Linked DNA regions of Homo sapiens: all the other regions are linked to region 3. Evidence: promoter capture Hi-C in 16 types of primary human blood cells and fetal thymus (Javierre and others, 2016). All regions are on one chromosome and are shown on one strand. Each heading gives the region's core, a stretch centred on a gene start or on the middle of the fragment in contact. The rest is flanking DNA. Distances are from core to core; before and after follow the strand shown. Region 1 overlaps STXBP4 (syntaxin binding protein 4). Region 2 overlaps PCTP (phosphatidylcholine transfer protein). Region 3 holds the start of MMD (monocyte to macrophage differentiation associated). Region 4 overlaps STXBP4 (syntaxin binding protein 4). Region 5 overlaps STXBP4 (syntaxin binding protein 4). Region 6 overlaps STXBP4 (syntaxin binding protein 4).

The links. Contacts are between HindIII fragments. The CHiCAGO score rates a contact against its expected background, and 5 or more counts as called.
Region 1: a contact is called between a fragment that was not itself captured here and the fragment with the promoter of MMD in region 3, in 5 of 17 cell types (total CD8 T cells, erythroblasts, total CD4 T cells and 2 more). The highest score is 7.8, in total CD8 T cells.
Region 2: a fragment that was not itself captured here is called in contact with the fragment with the promoter of MMD in region 3 in 1 of 17 cell types (monocytes); the score reaches 6.0 in monocytes.
Region 4: a contact is called between a fragment that was not itself captured here and the fragment with the promoter of MMD in region 3, in 10 of 17 cell types (non-activated CD4 T cells, total B cells, naive CD8 T cells and 7 more). The highest score is 11.9, in non-activated CD4 T cells.
Region 5: a contact is called between a fragment that was not itself captured here and the fragment with the promoter of MMD in region 3, in 3 of 17 cell types (erythroblasts, total B cells and naive B cells). The highest score is 5.4, in erythroblasts.
Region 6: a contact is called between a fragment that was not itself captured here and the fragment with the promoter of MMD in region 3, in 1 of 17 cell types (total B cells). The highest score is 5.8, in total B cells.

The regions. Positions count from the first base shown.
Region 1 is chr17:54,999,474-55,003,349 of GRCh38, reverse strand. It overlaps STXBP4 (syntaxin binding protein 4), which reads right to left. Exons shown (of 18, transcript NM_178509.6): 6 at 3,508-3,718; 7 at 2,467-2,542. Among named protein-coding and RNA genes, the nearest start is that of STXBP4, 33 kb to the right of the region's middle. The HindIII fragment of the contact is 2,518 bases long and covers 389-2,906 here.
Region 2 is chr17:55,770,658-55,774,730 of GRCh38, reverse strand. It overlaps PCTP (phosphatidylcholine transfer protein), which reads right to left. Exons shown (of 6, transcript NM_021213.4): 3 at 3,546-3,625; 4 at 836-1,007. Among named protein-coding and RNA genes, the nearest start is that of PCTP, 22 kb to the right of the region's middle. The HindIII fragment of the contact is 3,553 bases long and covers 1-3,026 here.
Region 3 is chr17:55,420,203-55,424,077 of GRCh38, reverse strand. MMD (monocyte to macrophage differentiation associated) reads left to right here and starts at 2,243. Exons shown (of 7, transcript NM_012329.3): 1 at 2,243-2,408. The coding sequence starts at 2,383. RefSeq lists a silencer at 1,843-2,302. The HindIII fragment of the contact is 12,161 bases long and covers 1-3,875 here.
Region 4 is chr17:54,980,413-54,984,923 of GRCh38, reverse strand. The region is part of intron 1 of STXBP4 (syntaxin binding protein 4); the gene reads right to left. Among named protein-coding and RNA genes, the nearest start is that of STXBP4, 14 kb to the right of the region's middle. The HindIII fragment of the contact is 5,509 bases long and covers 1-4,511 here.
Region 5 is chr17:55,045,336-55,049,596 of GRCh38, reverse strand. It overlaps STXBP4 (syntaxin binding protein 4), which reads right to left. Exons shown (of 18, transcript NM_178509.6): 12 at 2,443-2,508. Among named protein-coding and RNA genes, the nearest start is that of STXBP4, 79 kb to the right of the region's middle. The HindIII fragment of the contact is 551 bases long and covers 1,145-1,695 here.
Region 6 is chr17:55,027,523-55,031,788 of GRCh38, reverse strand. It overlaps STXBP4 (syntaxin binding protein 4), which reads right to left. Exons shown (of 18, transcript NM_178509.6): 9 at 525-621. Among named protein-coding and RNA genes, the nearest start is that of STXBP4, 61 kb to the right of the region's middle. The HindIII fragment of the contact is 1,057 bases long and covers 1,101-2,157 here.

The DNA of each region.
Region 1 (3,876 bases), core at 398-2,897, 420 kb after region 3:
TTACCTATAACTTACTTAAATATATTTTTCACTAACCTATTTTTCTATTACAAAATCTACCACTATTCTTATAGCGACTGGTATAAATTTACCTGAGTTTATTCATTGTTAACAAGATCTCTGCTCTAATCACACCTGACTCTTAGAATCATCTGACATCTAGCTCATCCTTAGTTCTATGCTTTTATTTGTGGTGCTTCCTTAACTTGAAACGATCTCCTGTGTTCAGTTATCAATTGATGTTTACCACTTTTTTCAAGATTTGGATAATGTCTGACTTTTGCCAAGAAATTTTTCTTAATTTCTGCATATTGTGACAGATTCCTTATTATATACTAGTTTTTGGGGTCAAGGGGAGGACATAAAATTGAATCAAGAATTGGAAGCTTTCCTTCTGCTCTATAAACATGACCTAGAATATTATCTGAGCTACACTCTAAGCTATAGGTTCCATATTATTAGTAACAGGAAAATTTAGTAAGCATATACTATGCACTAATTACAATATAAGTGCTTGACATGCAAGATCTTGTTTAATCCTCATAACAACTCCTTGTAACTTGTAACTATTTCAAGGTTACAGAGCTAATAAGATGAAAGCAAGAACCTGAACACTGAGTCTGTATTCAGAGCCTGGTGGTAACCACTGTGCCTTCCTTATACCATACTCATAGCACTCACTACTTCCTTCCTTAGGCCTCTTTGTTCATGTCTTTACATAATTTGTGTAAATGTGTTATTCATCCACAAGACAGAATGCTTTTTAGAGTAACAAAACCACCCATATCCTGCTCTGATTAACACAAAAAACTGCAAATAGTAGCTGCTTGATAAAATAAACATACACACACATCTATAAACAAATACATGCATATAAATTAGAATGTTTCCTAATTTCAATAATTATAATTTTTAGCCCCATGTTTTATTTCACAATATACTATTAAGTATCTCACAGAAAATATCCTAATTTCTTCATAATTCCCGTTGTACTGTATTCTACACATATAACATAGTAAAACCTTACTGAATAAAAGGTTAAAATAGGCATTGAATAGTTCAATTACTTTAAAAGTTAAAAACATGTTATATAATTATTAATATTTTATAATATCAAGGAATAAAGGGTTCTGACTTCCATCATCTAGCAATTTTGATGCTCATCTCATGACTGTTTCATTTGTCTTTTTCTTCTCATAAGGGTTCCCAGTTTAAAATAAATACAGTACATGCAGAGACTGGAAATTAATTATGTAAGAGGAATAATGCTATAAAGTTGGTCAATAAATCTAAGTAAAAGGTAATATAACTCATGGCTTAAGATTGCTATTAACCCACTGGTAAATACCACCCCAAATCGGAGGAAACTACTGTGGAATATAGTATAAACTCCTGTAAAGATTGGTAGCTATTGAGCCAGGCACGAGCGGTGGCTCACGCCTGTCATCCCAGCACTTTGGGAGGCCAAGGCAGGCAGATCACGAGGTCAGGAGATCGAGACCATCCTGGCTAACATGGTGAAACGCCATCTCTACTAAAAGTACAAAAAATTAGCCGGGCATGGTGGCAGGCGCCTGTAATCCCAGCTACTTGGGAGGCTGAGGCAGGAGAATGGCGTGAACCCAGGAGGCGGAACTTCGACAGAGCAAGAATCCATCTCAAAAAAAAGATTGGTAGCTATTTAATTTAAATTAATGCTTCCTTATTTTTCAGTTCTTATATAAATAATGCTATTAAAACAAAATTAAAATATACAGGTAAAAATTTACCTTATAATTAGGCATATATAATTAGTTTTTCAGTTATGTTTAGTCTTTTTATCATTGTTGTGTTTAACTTTTGGAGATAATTTCAGGGGGCTTTTTTTCTTCGTATTGATCCTGTAAGCACCTTATAGCCACATAAAAATCTTTATTTTACATTTGGCTTAGATAATTAACGCTTTATTGTTTTAAAAAGTCAGTAAATCATTTTATGGTAATTAAGAATCAATAATAATGAATTAACAATACTGACACCCTTTATAATTGATATCCATATGATTTCTTCCAAAAAAACAAGATACATTTCTTTTCTTAAGGTATGCTCCCTTCTATAATGTGTTTTCCGAAAGGTGTATTTAATATGCCTCATCAGTATTGCACTAAAAGGACATGGCAACCTAATCTTGATCTTTATAGAAGACTTTCCATTATTTGATTTAAACAATTCATTAATTATTACAGCTTCATAAACACTGTTATGACAATGCATCTTTTGAAACTTCAACTCTTTGTTCAGGGAAATATCTAATAAAAGTCATACTTTAACAGGGCCCAACGGAAAGACATTATTTTTACTTTTTCGTTCACTGAAGGAACAAAGACATAATTCACCCTTCTTCAAAGTCTTAAGTCACATTACACACTCCTCATTGAGAGAGAATTGAAATAAAAAACAGGAAATAGAAATTAAATGTGTATTTACCTGTATTAGACAAACCCACAGTACTGTTTTCTGAAGTAATTGGAATCTGTACTGTTTTGTTGTATCCAGTTTTTATCTGTGAAAGAAAATGAGGAACATGCAATGTCATTTACTAAAGTAGGTCACTTGAAGCCCATGTTAACATAAAAAGAATGGTTAAAGAGATTAAAGTAATTATCCCTCAAATATGAAACCTCTAAAATTTTGGTATATGCATCTTCAAACAAAGCAATTCAGAATTAAAGGTAACAATTGCTTTCAGCTCTACCACATCCAAGGATAACAAAATATAAGGCCACTCATCTTGTCTTTTAAAAGTATTATAGCTCCAAGTGACAAAGTATAAGGGGCTGACAGAAAATCTTATACTCTGTCTCTGTTCAGCATGTACCAGAGACTGAAGTTACCTTTGATGAATTTTATTCTACTGACTAAAAGCTTAAGTTTCCTATTTTACAGCTAACACAGATATAAATAATACACACTTTATTCTGTAACTGTAATTTGTTCAGATAATATAGCAGTTAGTAATTGAGTATGTTAATTCTGATATAGAAATTCCCCATTTTGTGTGATTCTACTTGGGTGAACTATAGCATGCACACATGAAGGAGCAATACCTTCTTAGATTGGATGCCTGGGATTAGCCTCACTGTGTGGGAAAGAAGCTAAGGAACAAAAAGGAAGATGGCCTCACTTCAGTCAAGCAGAGAACAGAAATGGCAAATAACTAAACCAACTGAAACCAAATATGACATTCTTAACATAGTTTTGAGTGATATCTAGGCATATCTTTGTGGAACCATTTTGTCATGCTGGTATTTTCTAACCAATCATGCTCCTGGACACAGGACATGCTGACTTAAAATATGTTTATTGAAAACACAGCATAAAAATTTTAAATAGAAAAAAATCTTTCAAAGAAATATTAATTTGTTAACAATTTTACTGAAATAATTCTATATGTACATAACCAATGTAAAAATGTATAGGGAATTTATGGAGTGCATATATAGAGAAATTTAAGATTACCTGACTTACCTCACAAGAAGATAAAATGTCATTATTTGTTTTGGGAGTGGATGAGGTCTTTGGGATTAGTATTTCAGGAGGAGAAGAAAAAAGACTTAATGTTGAGGCTTGAGGTCCATATTCTCCTGAAGCTTCTATAAGTGATGTACATGACAGATTTTCTGGCTGAATGTTGTCGGATTTTTGTCTTATGAATGCTATCTCCCAAGCAGATTCTAACCTAGTACTAAAAAGAAATCACTTTATGGATATGCTATGAATATAGTACAACTGAAATCCAAGATAATGTTTCAGATGTTATTAAAAAATACTTATTATAAAGTACTTAATACATCTTAAATTACTGCTTTCAAGGAGACATTCTAAATGACTCATTCT
Region 2 (4,073 bases), core at 1-2,500, 350 kb before region 3:
AAACTGTGCAAACTTTATATCTTCATATTCAAGCTCAGAAACTGCAGAGGGAGGTAGCATATAATTCAGATGGACTTCTCTCCATTGACTGCCCTTATGGCATACTTAAATATAGGCACTTTTGAAAACAGCCATAGACACATTTTGCTGCTATTTATTAAATACCTGGCAAGTGCTGGACACTTGAATATAGCCTCTCATTCAATTATTCTAGCAATCCTAAGGAGATGGTAAAATTAATCCCATTTTATAACTGATGAAACAGATACTCATAAAAATTAGGTGACATATTCAAGGTGACCATCTAACTATAGTTCAGATTTTTGCCTAGGACTCAAGGCCACACTCATTCTGGTAGAGCAGGTGGCCTCGCACCCCACTCTCTGTCTGCAGCTTTCCTCCCTGGGGGCTGAAACTCAAGCTGGGCAGGTCTTGAGTAGCTCTGAGTTGGTACTGAGCCAGAGCTGAGACCTCCAAGACAAACCTGCCAGCTTTCTTGCCTACCCTTAGGCCCAGCGTATGTATCCACAGGACCAGCTGGAAGTGACTTTCTAAACTCTCTGGCTTACTTATAATGGTCTGGTTTCATCTGGACAATCCATGAGTCTGGAGAAAATAGACTGGGTCAGAGTTAAACATCAACCTCATACTCTACTCAAGTTTGTTGGGGTGGAATGAGGCTCTCTCTAGGTGCTGATCCTGGTTTGCTCTGCAGCTTTGCCTGTCCTCTGACCTTCAGGGATACGCTTCATGTACTCGACATGTCCCCCCATCAGCCTGGCCCTCCCGTGGGGGACCCCTGGCTGGGTGCACTGACAGGCACCATGGGTTTTACCTTTGCTCCCCTTCTTGCCGTCACTCTCGATCGCCAGGCTCTGCTTGTATTGCTTCACCCGGATCACCCCAGACCTCTCGCCAAGCTGAGGCATGGAGGTGCTCCGGGCCAGGATCACATGGATCTTCCTCCCTTCCATGTCCAGGTCTCGCCGCTGCCGAAGGTAGACATACTGCATAGCCAGTTAAGGCAAGACACCAACGCCAGCATTGTAGACAGACAGAAGGAAAGCGCCACAAGCTGGAAGCAAAGGGAGGTGATTCTGTGCCTCCCACTTGGCATTTGCTCCTTTCTACCACTAGTTCACTGACGTGCCCTGTCTCCATACCTGCACTGCAAGACTGTGCCTCACACCACCTAGTATTCTCACCAAAGAGCATGTATTACTTACCTGTGAGTGATCCCTTCATGCTTTTAATTATGTGAGGAAACCACATTTCCTTTCTCCAAGAAGGCACTGGGAGATGACAGAGGAATGGTCACTTAACAGCTGTGTGGTCCTAGGTAAGCTACTCAGCCTTGCTGAGACTCAGATTCCCTATGTAGGAAAGGGAGTAACACTGCCTTGCAGACAGGCTTGGTGGGGGCATTAGAGAAAGACCTGGGCAGAGTAAGCACTCGACAGACAATGGTGTCATTCCTCTTTGTTCTGGCCTCACCCAATGCTCTAATTACTGACCTTTATGCATAGTAAATGGTCAAGCAATGTTACAGCTGATGACCATAGGAAGACATGGGACTACATGAATATTTCGTAGGCAGATGTCCTCTCTGGGCTAACACTAGTTTACCAAGAATAACAAAACCATTTCATGTCCATCAGCCTTGACAGAAGAACCCTTAAGTTTACGGCACTATTCTAGGGAGGATAATGAAAGTCTATGAAACAACAGGAATCACTACTTATCGAGCCTTTATCATGTAACATCATGCACTTGACATACAGCTTAAATTTGGATCCTTACAAAGACCCTGTGAGTTTGGTATGAGTATCCCCATACTACAGATGACAAAAGTGAGGCTCAGAGAGGAAAAGAACCTTGCCAAAAATCCCACATCCCAGCTGAAGTGATGAAACATGAATTTTTATCCCAGATCTGGCTCCAAAACCTACTTAGAATTTCATAGTTGGATGGAGCTCAGATATTTAGTTTGTTAGTTACACTTTCATAAAACAGAATTTTGGGTTTCCCACTCAAAGGAATCAAAAACCTAAAATAATCAAAAAGTCACTACGCACAACACAATTACACTTACTATAACATGGCAGCCGTCTCAGCCTCCACCCACCTCAGTGTCTTTTTTTTTTTTTTTTTTGAGACAGAGTCTCACCCAGACTGGAGTAGAGTGTCACGATCTCGGCTCACTGCAACCTCCACCTCCTGGGTTCAAGTGATCCTCCCACCTCAGCCTCCGGAGTAGCTGGGATTGCAGGCGCCCACCACACCCAGCTAAATTTTTTTGTATTTTTAATAGAGACAGGGTTTCTCCATGTTGGCCAGGCTGATCTCGAACTCTGACATCAAGTGATCTGCCCACTTTGGACTCCCAAAGTGTTGGGATTACAGGCGTGAGCCACCCGCGTTCAGTCCCACCTCAGTGTCTTGACAGCGCCCCCTGTTGCCCCACCCTCACATTGGACAGTCTATTGCTCCATGCTCTTATACACTAATAAGTAAAGTTCTTAAATGTTTCAGGAAAGAGATGTTGATTTGTCACTGGGTTCCTTTCTCCTACACCTTTTACTTTTTCCTTTTAGCAAATATTGTTCCACTCTCTCCCCCAACTTTCTCAGCTCATGTGATAGATATCATCTGATACTCCACGGAGGAAGAATTATCTTGATATAGTGATTAAAATTTGGCAGAACACCTTTGAAGTGTTGGCAGTTCATCTAATTCAGTGGCTTCCAAACTTTTTTTTGACTCCAAGAGACCCTTTGCTAAAAGGATCTTACATGGAAATTGAACCTGTAAAACACTCCGCTGCTGGGATTGAAGAGCATGGTGAAGGAGTCAAAATCTTACCTAGGAGTCATCCTACTTCCATCCTACCCACCCCCAAAATTCCATCCTAGCCCCCCAGCTTAGTCCTAAGGGGGCTTCTGAAGACCTTACAGTGCCAGCCAAGCCTCCCTACATTTCATTCAACTGCTTCATTTCATAAACAAGGACATTGAGGGGAAGAAGCTTACAGTCAGTGTCCAGAGCCAACAATCAAGGAGGGATTTCTGTGGGGTCTACTGAGATGGGGGAGGCGGAGAGAGCTGGAAATGCAGAGGCCTGAGTTCCAGCACCTGCTCTGCCACTAACCACCTATGTGCCTCTGTCCTATCACCTCTTTGGGAGCCCTTTTTCCTTCTGTAGACTGAGGGAGCTGTAACAAGCACTTTTTATAAGAAGTTCCTTCCAGATCCCCAATTCTGTGGCCTGACAATTTCAAGGCCTAGGAAACTTCTTAGGAAAGTAAGAGCTGCTCTCCAGTGACCAAAATTACAGACACTTCATGTGGTTGGGCCCAGAAATCACACTCTGAGCTCTCCAAACACCATACAAGAAGCAATATCTTTAGCAAATGCTGCTGCAAGAATCAGAGACAATGTTATCTGTGCCTGCTGAGAAACCAGCTCTACCTCTCTGCAATAGACTGCAGCTGAGGAACACAGAAACACTTAGAGGGCCAGGGAATGAGTACCTTGTGGAAAGGATACGTCTCTGTTGGACATGGGAAAAGGGTACTTCACTTCCCAGTAGACCACAGTCTCTCCGTTGCATTCTTGTTCATAGAGTTCTAAAGGAAAGCAAAAGAAGTTAATGCATCTGGAAGCCTTTTTAGCTACAACTAATAAGGGTATGACCTCTTAGGCCAAGCATGGTGGCTCATGCCTGTAATCCCAGCACTTTTTGAGGCCAAGGTGAGTCAATTGCTCAAGTCCAGGAGTTCAAGACCAGCCTGGGAAATATGGTGAAACCCCATCTCTATATATAAAAAAAAAAAAAAGCAAAAAAATCAGCCAGGTATGGTGGTGCATGTCTGTAGTCCCAGCTACTCTGGAGGCTGAGGTAGGAGGATCATCCAAGCCTAGCAGGTCAAGGCTGCAGTGAGCCAAGCCATGATTGCACCACTGCACTCCAGCCTGGGTGACAGAATGACACCATGTCTCAAGAAAAAAAAAAAAAAAGATGACCTCTTAGGTTATGATAAACCACTAACTCATAAGGTATAAAATTCTAGAAAA
Region 3 (3,875 bases), core at 994-3,493:
CTTTCCTTCCTTCCTTCTTTTTTTTTTTTTTTTGACAGGATCTCACTCTGTGGCCCAGGTTCAAGTGATCCTCCCATCTCAACCTCCCAAGTAGCTGGGACTACAGGTGCCTACCACAACACCTGGCTAATTTTGTTGTTGTTGTTGTTAGAGATGAACTCTTGCTTTGGTGCTCAGGCTAGTTTCAATCTCCAGGCTTCAAGCGATCCTCCCACCTAGACCTCCCGAAGTGTTGGGATTACAGGTGCAAACCACTGTGCCTGGCCCTTTAAAAAAAAAAAAAAAAAGACTTTTTTTTTTCCAGAGAAGTTTTAGGATCACTCAAAAATTGAGAGTAAAGTACAGGGATTTCCCACACATACATAGCCTCTCCTGTTATCAAAATCCCCCAACAGTGTGGTACATCTGTTACAATTGAGCTTCCTTGTTTTATTTTTTAACCCTTCTTATGTTATTACACATGGCTATTTTTCATCTATCTTTATTAGCTATCTCCTTTGTTACCTTCCCCTCCCGCACTGATGTTTTAGCCCAGTGGCCCAACATAGCTGATAAGAAGCAGACTTTCATTCCAGGTTCATTTTCCCGATTTAGTGTTGAGGGTGCGGGTAGATGAAGTTTTGTTTTGTTTGTTTTGTTTTAGAGAAGTGTATTGCTTTAAAACAGGGAGAGATAGTCTGACGTACTGAAAGGAGGTGGGTCTTTAAAGTTAGCGAAAGGTAGGTAGGAGCCTTACTTTTGCCTTTGGCAAGTTTATTGACCACTATAAGCCTCAGCCTTATCTGTAAAATAAGTTGGATAATGCCCATCTGGAGGAGCTCTTGGGAAGATTGAAGCATGGAAAGCACCTCTCTGGAAGGTTCAAGGAAAGGGAACTAGAATTATGGGTGACAGAATTCCCTGGCTTTCCAATGCTTTACTGTAGGTCGAATGAGCACTCCTAGCAGGCTGGCCTCATGCCACTTCAGAGTCTCTAGCCTGCAGGCTGGGGGCTGGGTATGGACACGATACCTGGAAGGGAACACATATAACTTCCATCAGTGATCCTGGAAAGGCTCGACAAATCACCCATTCATTCATTCTGTGTGTATGTGTGTGTGTGTGAGAGAGAGAGAGAGAGACAGAGTCTCACTCTGTCACCCAGGCTGGAATGCAGTGGTGCAATCTCGGCTCACTGCAACCTCTATCTCCCAAGTTCAAGTGATTCTCCCATCTCAGCCCCCCGAGTAGCTGGGATTACAGGAGCCCGCCACCACTCCCGGCTAATTTTTGTATTTTTAGTAGAGACAAGGTTTCACCAAGTTGGCCAGGCTGGTCTCGAACTCCTGACCTCAGGTGATCCGCCCACCTTGGCTTCCCAAAGTGCTGGGATTACAGGCATGAACCACAGCACCTGGCCCATTCATTCATTTTTATTTGAACTTCTCTTCCAGGAAGCCCTCTGAGTTTAGGTTTAGCGACAGGACCCTGATTCAAGTCAACTCGTTTATTTGAAAGCTGCCTGGATAAAAATAAAATAAAATAAAAAATAAACTGGAGGATAACATAAAAGGATCCTTGCAGAGGATTCCTCCTTTTGTGGATCTCACTGAATCTCAGAGTTAGAAGACGCTCAGAGATCTCAACTCCCTCAAGGGTCAGACAAGGACAGGTTTTTCATTCTGCCCTGGATCCTCTCACAATAGCCTCGCGGGAGCTGGCCCTCAAAATGATGAAGGAATAAATGAAAGGAGGGATGGAGAAATTAATGATGAAGAAAAAATGAATGAGGTAGGGCTGCTTGTTTGCTGCTATTTTCTTCACAATGCTTTTAAGATTTCCTGGTCCATCTCCTCCTTCACCACTTCTCTCCCTCCCTCGATCTCTTCTCCAACTTGTCTCTTACAGAAGGGCGCCGCGTTCCCGCGCTCCTCCCCTTCCCCTCGCCCCGCCCCTCCCCAGCGAGGCCCCGCCTCGCTGCCCGAGCCCGGCGGGAATGAATGGCAGCGTAGCCGCCGCGCCGCTCGGGGTGCCGATTGGCTGACCGGCGCGCTGACGCGCCGGCGACCGCGGGTGCACGCAGGCGAACAGAGCCGGCGGGGGCGGAGCCGGGCTCCGGGGCGGGGCGCAGGAGCCCCGGGGCGGAGGAGCCGGGGAGGCGGGAGGCGGGAGGCGGGAGGTGTTGGGGCCGTTGAAGCGGCCTCCCTCCCGCCCCCAGCCGCCCGGTCTGGCCCCAGCCCTGTCCCGACCCCCGGCCTGGCCCACTCCGACCCTACCCGGCCGAAGGGTTCCGCTGGACACGCAGGCGGCCTCCGGAGCAGCCCAAGCCCATGAGGGCCGCGCGCCCGGCCGCCGGTGCTGACGAGACGGAGCTCCTGGCCCCCGAGGAGGAGCAGAGGATCAATGCGGTTCAAGAATCGATTCCAGCGGTGAGAGGGATGGCGTCCCGGTCCCGCTGCCCGTGTCAGAAGCGGGTTCCCAAATCCCGCCGTTAAGCGCACGGCTCCCGGCTCCTCACCTGGATTCATCCTGGGTGGATCCCGCACCTTGGCCAGGGATCAGTTCCCTGGGGATTCCCCACCCTGCTGTCCCTGGGCGATCCCCTTCCTCCAAGGATGGGAGCTCCTGCCTCACCCGGGTCTCCCCTCGCGATCTGCGGACCTCAGATGGATTCCCGGCCCCGGGACTCCAAGCCTGTCCTCCTTCCCGGGGATCCCTTTGCTCCTGGGGCTCACCCTCCCGACCCCCATACAGGCTGGGCTCTGGCTCTCTCTGGGAACCCGAACCCCAGCCCCGGGCACCGCCCCCGAGTCCTCCGACCTGGCTTTGGCCTCCATCCCTTTACCTCCAGGGTGGGGGTCTCCCGGGGCGCGCGGAACGGGGTGGCGCCCTGCGGAGAGATTTGTCGTAAAGCGGGGTGCTAGGCATTTTGGGTGCTTTGTGAACGGCCCTAGCAACAGGGAAACTGAGGCACGCTCCGCCAGCTTAGCCCTGCCTGGCCGTGTAGGGGCCTTGCTGGTTCTCCAGCTGAACGTCCCAGGGCGGTGCTATTTTTGGGCTCTGCGAAGGGGCATGTTAGCTTTCGGGTGGCGAGACCTGCTGTGGAGGCGCCGGTGTTAGGAAACGAGGAGGAGGAACCGTGGAGGCGCCACCGGAAGGCTGGCCGACTGCTCATTCACTGTAGAGCTGGTGGAAATGCCGGGCTGGGGGGCGCCGTGGCCTTACTCCCCTCTGGGGCTCCACCGTCTAACAATGGATGGAGGTTAGCCCATGACTCTGAGAGGAACTCCGGGCTTTTCTTTTCTGTTTAAGTGGGTGAAAGTTCACCTCTCCAGGGCATATGGTAACTGCATCCCTTTGTGTGAATTCCCGGACCTTCACCACCAGCATGTTTGCTGGGGGTGCAGTGACAGGGGAAATTTTAAGAAATGCATGAAATCTTCCAAGAAGGTTGTTGAGTTTTTAGACACTACCTTTTATTTCAGAATTTTAAAGTACACATTTTTTTTTTCTTTCCAATCTCCATGCCCTCACTGCCCTCTCACCCATCTCATTCCTCCCCCAGTCCCAAAGGGTAAAGGAGGCAACAAATGCACAGAAGAGTTGCCATGGTCTGGGCCACCAGGAAGGGGATCAGCTTGAAGACTTGGATTGACTTCTGAATATATTGCTTATCAGTCAGGGTGTTGAATGCTTGGCACTGTTCCCCCAGTGGAACTTCATACCGGTGTGTCTAAGGGCAAAATGGAACCGTAGTGTTCTGACTTTAGAACCTGATGTCAGAAATGAAGACCGGAGGGGCTTTTAGAGAGAATGTAACATGCACTCCAGTCATGATCAGTGAAGCCCTGTGCATGCGGTTTGATTTGGTTTTACTTCTCTACACGTCTGTGCTC
Region 4 (4,511 bases), core at 678-3,177, 440 kb after region 3:
GAACAAGTTTTTGGAAGATAAAAAAAAGATGGTTGGGTGATAATTGGTAAAAGAGGGGTGAAGAAGCTGAAATTTAGGGCAGTGCTTCTTAAACATTTTTTAAGTCTGAGCACACACATAATGGTAATATTTGTATGGCATACTAAGGTAAAGAAAGCTGATATCCTCTGAAAAGCTGAGGAGAATCAATATATCAGCACATCAGCAACTGATTCACAACAAAATTCTGGCCTAGGAAACAGGTGCAGGAGGAACATATCTTAAAGAATCCCAGAGAAACTGGCCGGGTGCGGTGGTTCACGCCTGTAATCCTAGTACTTTGGGTGGCCGAGGCGGGTGGATCACGAGGTCAGGAGATCGAGACCATCCTGGCTAACACGGTGAAATCTCGTCTCTACTAAAAATACAAAAAAAATTAGCCGGGCGTGGTGGCAGCGCCTGTAGTCCCAGCTACTCGGGAGGCTGAGGCAGGAGAATGGCGTGAACCTGGGAGGCGGAGCTTGCAGTGAGCCAAGACCGTGCCACTGCACTCCAGCCTGGGCGACAGAGCCAGACTCCGTCTCAAAAAAAAAAAAAAAAAAAAAGAAAAAAGAAAAAGAGAGTCCCAGAGAAATTGAAGACTCAGAAACAAAAAGTTCTAGGGAGAACAAAACTGAGAGATTAAAGACTAAAATCAAGAGGATCATCCTATCTTTTCTTCAACCACTGTATGCAGAAGAAATCATAGATTCTTCCGTAAATTAACTGAATGGGCCCCAAACACAGAGCCAACTACTTTTGAGACCCTAACATAGCAATGTATTCACTGGTCTGGGTGGTAAAAACACATTTCGACTTTCACGCCCTCTGTAGTAGCAAGCAACAGGAACAGTGGAAGCATGCAGATCAACAGCAGCCAGAAAAATGAAGCCACCAAGCCACAATGTCAGTAGCAAAAGTCCAATGACCATGAAGTAAGAAAGTTATTCAGTACCCATGAGGAAAAGAAGGGCCACCTGAGGGAGGAGCTTAAAATCCTTGGGCTTTGACTAGTAGTCTCTCAGAGTCAAGAGCCACTGCAGCTGTCCACAAGACTGATATAGTCATGGAAGAGAGTTCAATTCTAAAACTAAGTTTGCATAAGTTCATTATAGACTGCTTTAATGATACACGCATGGAGCAGATTCTCAAACCTCAAGAGAGGTCATTCTCAAATAATAACAATAATAGCAACTACCATTAATTGGCACTATGTTTCACACACTATGTATTCCAAATGTATTTATTTAATATTGTGGAAAATGTACTAGACATAAGTAAAAAAAAAAGAAAAGAAATGCAGAGTTCAAATGGCAATACTGCCATGGGCTAGTAATATGGCATTAGAAAAATTGCCTAACCTCTTAGCATCTCCTCCTATTAAGTAAGGTAAGAATAGTAACACCTTGCTCAAAAGCAGATGTGAAAAACTGAGCAGTCTTTCTACTGGTACCAAAGTGAGTAAGATCCTCATCTTTGGTGAGTTGTTCTAACTGGACACAGGTCCCCAGGTCCCCTGGGAACATATTCAAGCCTAATGATGTATAAATGCTACTCTACAATAGATTCCATATAATATACTTAACAAGACATTTTAAAACATTTCTATTTTAAGGTTTAAAATAAAATTTAGGTGTTTATTCCATTCACTTAACATGCTGGCAGTGTCCTAAGTGCCAAAGATGAGATGAGATCAGGAGGGGTGAAGTGCTCTGACAGCAGTATACACAGGGAGTATGGAGAAAGGCTGCGTAACCTGGGATCTAAGTCATCATTAAACACGAATACAGCCAGGCACCATGTTACAGGATTTTCTTCCCACAGGAGCCCCACAAGGGAGGTATTATTAACCCAATTTTATACAAAAGAAAAATAAGTCATACAGAAAGTATGTGGCTTGTCCATTGTCACAGGCTAGTTGTAAAGTAGAGTTTGAACCCTGCTCTTTCTTGCTCCAAACCCAAGCTGTTTGTTTCTACTACAGTATGCTGGAAAATTAATTCAGGTAAAAAGTTTGATTCACCAAAAAAGTGGAATGAGAGAGTAAGGAGTGGTAATGTGTTATCTCTTTTATATAAAGATGACACTATTGATTAAACAGAAGTGGGTTTAATCTTATCCATCCCAACAGTGGTATTCATTGTCATGTCCTTAAATATCATAAAATGCCTGTCCTTTCCCTCTCCTTTGCCTGCTTCCTACTCTCTCTTTATACAAACTTGCAAGGCCCTCAGCCAACAGGGATTCCAGTAATGTTACATACACATACTCACCACACTCACACACACACACACACACACACACACACACAAACCACCCTCAAGTTCCCATAATTAATAAATAACACAGAAGGAAAACATTCTGTTCTTTTACTAAAAATATGAACATTGAAGACAAATATATTGTTATTCTAGTTTGGTGAATCATAAGAGGCAAACAGGTCAGCAAAAACAGAGAAAGTGGAACATTGGAGAAAAAAAATCTTGTTGTTAAAGATGAATCTATTCCAGAAAACTTAAATTAGAGCTTTTCTTTGATAAGTCTGTTTACTTATGATCTCATTAAAACAATCTTCATCCCATGTAATTAGAAATCTCATCAGATTAAAAAAATCTGTCCATAACGCATATGGTGTTTGAGTAAGACTTAGTAATTTATATTCTCAGACATGGTATTCAATAAAACCAGTTCTTTTCACTGGACAAAAAATAGAGAAAATAAAAGGGATAAAAATATCTTCTGCCAGAAATTATAGTAAATATTAATTTAATGAAATTACAAAAATGCCATAATGAAATTGATACAAATTGCCAAATGTCCCTCAGTCAGGGTTGTACTAATTTACTATCTCACCAACTATAGTGCCTGTTACTCTAAATTTTCTCCACTATGGTATACTAAATAACGTTTGGATTTTTGCCAGTTTTATTGATGAAAATGGTATCTCAAGGTAGTTGGAGTGAGGCAGAAGAGTTTTTTTATGCTTTAAGAACCATTCAGTATCTTCTTTTATGTGAACTGTGTTTTTTTTACATCTTTTGCCAATTCTTCTATTTATCGTTAGGTCTTTCTCTGTTCAGTTTCTAGGAGTTCTTAAATATTACAGAAATTATCTCTCTATCAGCATTAAGAATTGCAAATATATTTTCCCCCCTTTTCTTCTGGGTTATGGGCTTTTTGTTACACAAAAGTTTGTGGCTAACTTATGAATCTTTTATGATTTCCAGGTTTTAGGTCAAATTAGAAACTCCTTGCCCACTCCAAAGTTATAAAGAATTCTCTCATATTTTCTTCCAGTACTCTTATGGTTTCATTTTTAAATATTTGATCCATTTGGAATCCATCATAATATAAAGCACAGATCCAACTCATATTTTTCCCAAGAAGACCACCCCATTGTCTCAACTACATTTATTAAATCTTTTCCCCACCATTTTGAGATACAACTTTCATCATATACAAAATCTCTTAAGTGTTTGGGTCTACTTCTGTAATTTTTATTCTGGCCCTTTGGTTAGGTTGTTTATTTGTACACCAATGCCATTCTATTTTAATTACAGAGGCACTATCATATCTAGTAAGGCCGATCATCTCTCATTTGTTCTTTTGTTAACCAAGTTTCCCTGGTTGTTTTTGGTTGTTTATTTTTACACATTAAATTCAAAGTATTCTTATCTTGTTTAAAAAACAAAACAATGCTATTTGTAAGGGAATCACACTAAATTTACAAATAATTGAAGAAGTATTGTTATCTATGATGTTATTTTGAGTCTTCCTATCCAGGAATTTGGTATCACTTTCTATTTGTTCAAATCTTCTTTTGTGAACTTCTATAGCAGGGGTGGCCAATCTTTTGGCTTCCCCAGGTCACATTGGAGGAAGAATTGTCTTAGGCCACACATGAAATACACTAACACTAATATTGACTAATGAGCTTAAAAACAAATCATCAACAACAACAAAAAAAAAACGCAAAAAAATCTCATGTTTTAAGAAAGTTTACGAAATTGTGTTGGAACACATTTAAAGTTGTCCTGGGCCACATGCAGCCCATGGGCCACAGATGGGACAAGCCTGTTTCTACTGTGTTTTAAAGTTGCCTTCACAGTGACCTTGTGAGGCAGGAGAATAGGGTCTGGAGGCAGGGAGCCTAAGGCTGATTGGTGCTGACTTCCTAGAACTGAATCAAAAGGAAAACCCTACCTCTCCACAAAAGGATGAGAGGCTACTCCCTTTGCACTGCATGGCAGATGAAAAATGGAAAGTACTTCTGATTAGCTGCAGGCCACTCCTTCATTTACATAGGGTGTAACCAAGGAAACGATGGAAAACCTCTAGAGGAAATTTAAACCCCAGAATATTCTGTAACCAGCGCTCTTGAGCCACTTGCTGCAGCCTGCTTCCACTCTGTGGAGAGTACTTTCATTTCAGTAAATCTGTGCTTTCATTGTTTCATTCTTTCCTTGCTTTGTTTGTGCATTTTGTCCAAATCT
Region 5 (4,261 bases), core at 171-2,670, 370 kb after region 3:
ATTCTATAGGTTACCTTTCCATTATTACTTTTTAAGTGCTTGCTATCTCCTCTATTTTTACCTAATTTTTATCTGATATCAGTTTTAAATATTTATTGACTGCTACGCTTTGCTTATATAACAAAATGATGTATTCTGTTTTCCTCTTTTTTCTTTCTTATCCTCCCATTAAAAAATTTGCATCTTTTGACTTTTGTTAACACATGTAATGTTCATGCTATTTTTTTCATCCATGCACTGACTCATTTTAGTCTCACCTGTACAATAAAATATATGAAGTTCTCACCATTTGGGAACATTTTCCAAAGTTATTTTAGGCATTTTTTAGTTGGATAAAACTCATCCTATCTGAAGGTCTTCAGGAATATCATGTGTGAAATATTCCCTTAGTACTGGTATATCACAAACTGTTTTCTATGGCCTTGATATTTTAAAGTCAGGTTGGCTATATAAAACATTTTTGTATACTTTCTTTCTTTCCTTTCATGTCCTGAAAATGTTGTTCCACTATTGCCTTACTTTGCATGTTGTTTTGAGAAACCCAATGCTGGTCTAATTCTATTGCCTTCATAAGTTGCTTAATCTTTTTACTTGGAGGCAGTGTGCATTTATTTTCCTCTAAAGTCTAATAATTTTACTAGAATATATTGTACAGTAATCTTTCCAGGTCAGATTTCCCCAGTACCTATATTAGATTCAGGTCTTGTTTTAATTATAGAAAGTTTTCTTGGATTATAGTTCTAAGTATTAGGCTGTTCAGTTATTTTGATTGATTTCTTTAAGAAACTCTTTTACTTCTTGATTATATTTTCACTTTCCTAGTTGCTTTTCTTGTTTTCTTCATTGCCTTTTCACTTGATTATATTCTTCCTGGAGCAACTTGTAATTTAGTTTTCATTTCTGATAGGATTTTGTCTCTTCCTTCTTTCCTAAGTTTTATCAACTCTCATTTCACTTTTTCCTGATTTTTTTGGGGGTGATCAATATCTATTATTACTATTTTTTAAGTTTCTCATTTGAGATGTGTTTTTCATAGCCCAAATGCTTATTTGAGGAAATTCCCTTGAGTATGGAGTGTGACGTTACATTTTTCTTAAGTTTTGTGGTTAAATTGTTTTGGAAAGTTTTCATCAGGAGGAAAGCTTTCATTGATATCATCTGACTTTTTCAGTCGTTTTATAATGATGGAGATAGAATTTTTGTTCTATACTTTTTTATTTCACAGAAAAAGTTCTTAGTTCAAGAGCACTCTCTTCTGTGCAGTTTCTTCTATGGATCTTGTTTTGATGGTCATAGGGTAGGGTGGGTGGATTAATAAGTTGTGTTCTGCTTTCATTTCTATAAGCTCCTTAATTTTCCCTTCTTATTTCCTTCTTTCCTATCATTGCGAAGTCTCCAAGGAATTCTATCCATTCTCTATTGATCTGGTTCTTCCTCAGAAACAATGATTCTTCAAGGCTGCCATTTTTGATTGCATTCATACCTTGAAGTCTCTTTTTTTGTAGCTAGTGCTAAGAACCACCAAGTCTTGACATACGGCCAGTATTTTGGCATTTATGTTTACCTTTTCTCTTTCTGGGGGTGATTTTGTTTGTTCTTCATCTAATTCATAGTTTCTCTCTACTCTTTATTTCAGAATTTTTCAAGCCTTGCCTCCTCTGTTCTCTGTATTCCAGGTTTCAGTAAAGGCAAGCTTCAGAAGTTTTGTTGGAATTATTATTTTTCTTGTTGTATTTATATGTACTTTAAAGGCTGTGGTGTTTTTTTGTCACATAGTCATATTCAAAATATGGGTCCTGTATGGTTCTATCTGCTTTCTTTGTTGATTTTATGTTTTCTAGGGGGACTGTGTGAGGGAGATTCAAAATCAGGTGATCACTGTTGATCTCTAACAATGTTCTCTTATTTATATTTTGTCATTTGGGTTTTCATTTTATGATATTGTCATATATTTGTTTTATAGTGAGCTACCTCAAATTCTTTGAAGAATAATGCAAAGTGAAAATAAATATTTGCTTTTTATTATTAACAAATAAATGTAAAAAATGCTCTGCCTTGATGACTTTTTTGTTCTTTAGTAAAATGAAGTATGAGTAACAAAATAAAAAAGAAAAAGAAAAAAGGGGAAATGAAAGAAAAGAAAAAACAATGGAGAAGTAATGAGATTGGTTATTTTGGTCTATGGATATGTTTTTTTCAAAGAAATTTCAAAGAGGTTTTAACATTGTTTTGAGCAATAGTAGCAAGACTTTAGCATAGGTACAGCCTCCAAAAGTGATTGCTTTTAAGCTCTGTGCTATTTTGTATTATGTAATATGTATCAGGAAGCTCTGGGATATTGTAAAGAACCACTGCTTTATAATTATACCTCATATGTTCACACACACACACACACACACACACACACACACGAGCACATATATACACAATACATATACTTACTTGTTTCACATTCTGGAGCTCTTCTGTCAATTGTTTCCTTTGCTTATCTGATTCCAATAATTTTTCCTATATTTAAAAACCACCAAATTAACAACTTGTTATGAAAGTATTAACAAGTGTGACTTCTTAGTCCCTTGTTTCAAGGCCTATATTCCCAAATATCAAATTGCTACAATCTGAAAATATTGCTCCTAGTCATTTTTCTGGCTTTACATGAGGCACTTAAAAGTAATTAGTTATTTACAGTAAATTGTGATGTAAATATACTTTTTATTACCTTAATTTTGCAAAATCTCAAAATATAAGCTCTAACAGAAGCCAGTTAAGAATACAAATGTGTAAATATTAACACAATTTTGGTTAAGCTATCATTGCCAAAGAGATACCAAATTGAAGAGCATTATTATTACAAATTAGAATTAAAGGTCTTCGACCATACAAAAGAGGGCATATGAGACTGGCTCACCTCTTAATTTCCTAATTTAATTTTAGCTTATTCTTGGAAGATTATCCATGAAAAGGCATATATGACTAATGTAAACAAAACATAAAATAATAGTTATTAAGATTAATATTATACATACACATAAAATATCTTTGGATTTGAAATTAAGTCAAGCATATACCCTACGATGTCCATTTTTATTAATTATATCTTAAATAAATTCACATTTTATTGGTCAAATCAGAAATACTAAGAGTAATTTAAGAGCCATTAAATACAAACCTGAACAGAGGAATTGCTCGAACATTAAATTGAGTGGTAAAGATTCATGGCAATATTACAATGTTTAAAAAAGGCAATATCCTTTCTGGTATATTTCAGCTTATTCTTGTCTAAGAGGTGAAATGAAGGTATATGAAAATGAATATAATATGGCAATCTAATGACTATGCCACAGGAGCCAAGAGACTGCTGGCTCCTGTGATTTTATGTTCTGGGAAGTCACCTTCACTCTTTGTGCCCTAGTTTTTTTGTATCTGTAAATGGAAAATATATCTATTTTCCATTCACCTTTGCAAAGCAGTAGCAATGTGAATTCTGCAGAAAGCCTTCCTTAAATAAAGCCCACAGCACTTTTAAAAATTATTCTTGCAAGATAAAAATTAGCTATTGACATAAAATTATCTTGGTTTCATTTTTATTTGTACCTCATATTAGACATGAAGAATAGAGATGTCACAGGATAATGAAAAGTGATGAGACACCACCTAAATGCTTTATGAACTTCATTTAACAACCTCTGCTTTTTATGAGTGTATAATACAAGTAGAAAAACTGAAAACAAAAACATTACCTTTAACGAAATATTTATTGCTTTGTACACTACTTTATATGGCTTCTTTAACTGGCCAGCCAATAGGTAGGTTTTGAGGTAAAGGTAATTATAACATGTAAAATTTGTTTTATCTGGAATTTTTGTACCATATTCTAACCAACTGAGCTAGCTGGTTGCCGGCTTATCTGGGAGTTTAGGTTTTGTCATATCAGGGTATATTCAGTTACATTTCATGAACTTTAAAGGTAAATCCTGATTTATTGAATGACTCCTCAGGGAAGTCTTATTGAAATGTTAAATTAACATGACATATACACTTTCAAATTAACATTCTAATAATTACTGTTGATATTAAAATAAAATCAAATATATCACTAAAGTTAACAATGATAAACTATAAGGAAATGAAAAAGATCTGAGAGCCTCTGAAAATTCTGATAAACCACAAGTCTAATGGTTTAGGTAGCGATAAAAGAATACATAAAAAGTTATCTTATTAAGGTAACCAACACTGGGGAAGTTTTCTAAGAGAATATAAG
Region 6 (4,266 bases), core at 380-2,879, 390 kb after region 3:
TATGTGGAGGGTAAACTTTTACTATATGTGGGTTCTGCAAGGCTGTCTATGAGATTGAGTATGGCTGGATTTGGGTATATGCAGGGGTCCGGGAAACAATTCCCCTCCCATACCAAGGGATGACTCTAATTAGGTAGCATCATAAAAATATTTACTATATTATATTAGCTGAAAAAGGATTCGAATTAATCTCACAGTAGTGAAATTAGAACTTCCATATTTTGTACTGTTTCTTTTGTTATTACTAAAGCAATGTTTATGCAATAAATAAAAAATAAAAAGAATATGACAGAATGATGATATTTTAGAGCTGAAAGGTCCTAATGAAATTCTTCTTTCTGCTGACCCTGCCAGGTCAGTAATTCTAGCTGAGTTCTTTGGGTACTGATTAAGGACCTTGAAATGGATGTAGTTTTACTTTTCATTCTCTCCTTCTAAAGAACAAACACTCTTAATGAAAATGTGTCACCATAACTCTTGAATGATGATTCAGTGATAATACAACACAATAAACCTAATATTACCTCCAAAAGACACTGTCCCTTTTGAGTCTGCTTGTACTTGCTGTCTCAGGGCTTGGTGTTGTTCCTTTGTGGGCTGAATACCAAGATAATTTAGAGCCTGGAAGATAAAGGACTCATGAAAAGCAATTTTTCAAATCTCCAAAGAATAAAACTTTTCATTACAAACTTTACAACCCAGGGAAAATAATCAATACCAGAAACAGTCGACCAGGATTAAACACCCAAGGGAAGTCAGCTCTTTATGGATTAAGTGCCTATTGAAGATTAGCTTCCTGATTTTACTACTACCTCATTTTTTCCCCAAGACTAGCACTTTAGCTAATACCAAATTTATGACATTGTCCTAGAACCAAAAATCAAACTATTTCTTAGTTTATATGATTTGGCACATGTAAAATGGCAAAAGAATCCTACTACATCAGATTTACAAGTGACACTCTAAAACATGAATTATATTTGGTTAACATCTTGCCTTTGAGAGCAGAACTGAAGTTGATAGGAATTAGGTTCAACATAAAATCTTCTAATTTTTGGCTTGTTAGGGGCAGGCTTACACAAATAGTAAACTAAAAAGCTTTCTCTGCCACTTACTTCTCTCTTTCATCAGGCTCTTCCCCTTAAGGGAAAAGTTCTTTCTCGTTTTGGTATCCATTAGTGATTAAAAATTCAGAGACTGTTAATTGTATTCCAATGTCCATTCTCTCCTTGCTCCTTAGTAACCGAACCAACCACAATTTTCGGCTGAAAACACTGCCATGCAGCTAAAAGACATTTCCCAGCCCCTTGTACATCTCCATGCGGCCATGTAACTAACTAGGTACTAGCCAATGAGATACAAGGGGAAGTGCCATAGAGTACTATTAGGAAGTCTCCTTTCAAAAGTCGGGGTAAGCACTTCTTGTCCATGCGGATTAGTAAGGGGAAAGAAAGAGGAAGAAAAAAGATGAAAGGAAGGAAGGAAAGAAAGAGGAACTGATGGAATTTGAGCAGTTCTTTTGGTTCATGTGGTACCGCAGTAAAGATGGTGGAACAGAAAGATAATTGGAACATGGTCCCTGATACTCTGAAACCTCCACGGCAGCCCTGGATTACCTTCTTTCAGGCTTCTTTTTGGTGTGAAAGAAATTTCTAAAGGAAACTACTGTTATTTTGAGTTCGCCAGTTATATATAGCAAAATCTAATCTTAACTAACACAAAGGGACTAATTGGATGTCCTATTATTGGATATGGCAAGAGCATATATAGTGTCGATCACATCAAAACTAAAATGTAGGCAAAGTTTAGTATTGGTAATTATCTCTTACATATTTCTTCCTCCTTTAGAATCTCGTTCAATCATTTAGTAATTCATTCATCAAATAATTTATTTGGTGCCTACTATTTGTCAGCCACTAAACTATGCATAGGTGATAGATAAATGAAATATAGTCTCTCACCCCAAAGAGTTTACGGTCTCAAGGGTGAGAACAACTGTAAAGAAATAAGTAAAACACATAATTTAATAGAAGTATGTATAGGGTATATTAATACACAAAGCAACTGGTTAATCTGTAAGTGAGCAATTTGGGAACAATGAAAGAAGAATGGAGAAAGAATATCAGGAAAGATTCTTTCAAAAATGATTCTTAAGCTTAGTCTAGCATCATCTGCTTATCTCGTATAGTAGTCAAGTATTTGCATTGTATAACATGGCATAATGATTTTTAGCTTCTGTATTTTTTTCTCTTCAGTTATAAAAATGTTTCAAATATAAACACAAAAAATAATAATACAAAGAACACCTATATACTCACTATCATCAATTACTCATTGATATGTACTTAAAATTTATGTATATATTTTCAATAAATAAAACTATATATTCGGTTAAAAGTTTTTATAAATTATTCCTCAGCAGGAACTACTATCCTAAGTATTCTTCCTGGTCTTAATTTAATGACATTTACTACATAAGCAAGTATCCCCTAATAATATGTACTCTTATTTTGTGCATTTAAGCTTTTACCTCAAAAGCATAATCTTAAAGAGTAACTCTACAAATTATTTTTATTTTTACCTCAATTTTATGATTTCATAATTGCTCAATATTGTCTGCAAAACTAGTTCACTTATTTTAACTGTGAACAGTAATCCGTTGTATGAATTTATTGTAATTTATTATCCATTCCCTGATTAACAGGCTTTTATAACTACTCCAATCTGCTTTTTTTTTTAAATTACAGAACATTATACATGTCTCTTTGTAAAAATGTGTGAAAATTTCTCTACATTATATCCCTAGAAAAGGAAGTGCTAAGCCATAGGGGACATATGGTCAATTTTATTAGATATTGTTGAATTGTTCTCCAAACTGGCTTCATTAATTTATGCACACCAGTAGTGAATAAGCATTTCTATTTTTCTACATTCTTTTTTTTCCTTTTTGAGATTTAACAGCATCTGCTGTTTCCACTCTTATTTTGTCAATGTTGTATTTGAAATAGTATGCTGTTTGTTAATTTGAATTCCCCTAATTACAAGTGCAATTAAACATCATTTACATGTTTATTAGCAATGTTTTTGACTCACAAATTATTTAAAATATGTTTTAAATTTTCATACATGAGGTTTTAAGAAGTATCTTTACTGATTTTGAATTTGGTCTCTATCTTCCAGCTGTGACAACCAAAAATGTCTCCAGACACTGCCAAATGTCCCAAGAAGAAAAACTGCAGCCCTGCCCTTGAGAACCACTGCTCTGAAGACAATTGCCATATTAACAATTGGTGTCTAATTTTTCAGGTTTTTTTCTATGAATATAGTACCTATAAATTTATATAAATTGTGGATTTTTTGCAAAAATTGTCACACTATAGTGTTAATAATTATCAATATATTACTCCTTTCTATTCTGTACATTTTACAAATATTGCATGCTTTTTAAAATTGTTATGTTTGTACACTGTCTGAAGTGAACTTTTTTTAAAGCATTCTCCTTCTGATAATCATTTAGATTATACACAATTTTTCACTATGGAACACAATGCTACAAAGTGCTAGTGCTCTTTGCTTTATGCCAATGACTTCAGCAGCTGTAAGAATTATCTGGATTTTTTAAAAAATTATAAAATATTAATACAGAAGTTATAGGACATACTATAATAAAGTAATAGATATCTACTATCTTGCTTCATTAAAGCTTAGCAGTCAACTATATTTACTTCAGTTTTTGAATGTAACCAAAACATATAAAAACCCCTTTTGAACTTATTCCCAGAGGTAAGACTTATCATATATTTGATTTACTATTCCCATGAATTTTTTATTATATAATATTTGGTATATACTAAAAGCATATATGTAAAAAAACATGAGTTTTAAAGTAGGACAATAAAACACCTATGAATCCACTTAAGCAGCATAAAACTGTGAATACTGTTGGATTCATATCACAATATGGATATGGTATTTCACCAGAGGTAACCATACTAATGAATTCTGAACTATTGATTTCTTCTTTATCATTCTTGATCTGTTTATTTTAAAATGGTTTTATCACATACATATGTATTCCTAACATGTTACTTTGTTTTACTGGTTTTTTAGCTTCATAAAAATGCTACAGATAGTTTTCTAAAACTTGCTTTTTTCACTCTACAGTAAGGCTTACTACATATTTCAAATCAGAAAGTGTGAGTTCAACTTTTTTCTTTTTTTATTTCAATAGCTTTTGGGATACAAGTAGTTTTTGATTACATAGAT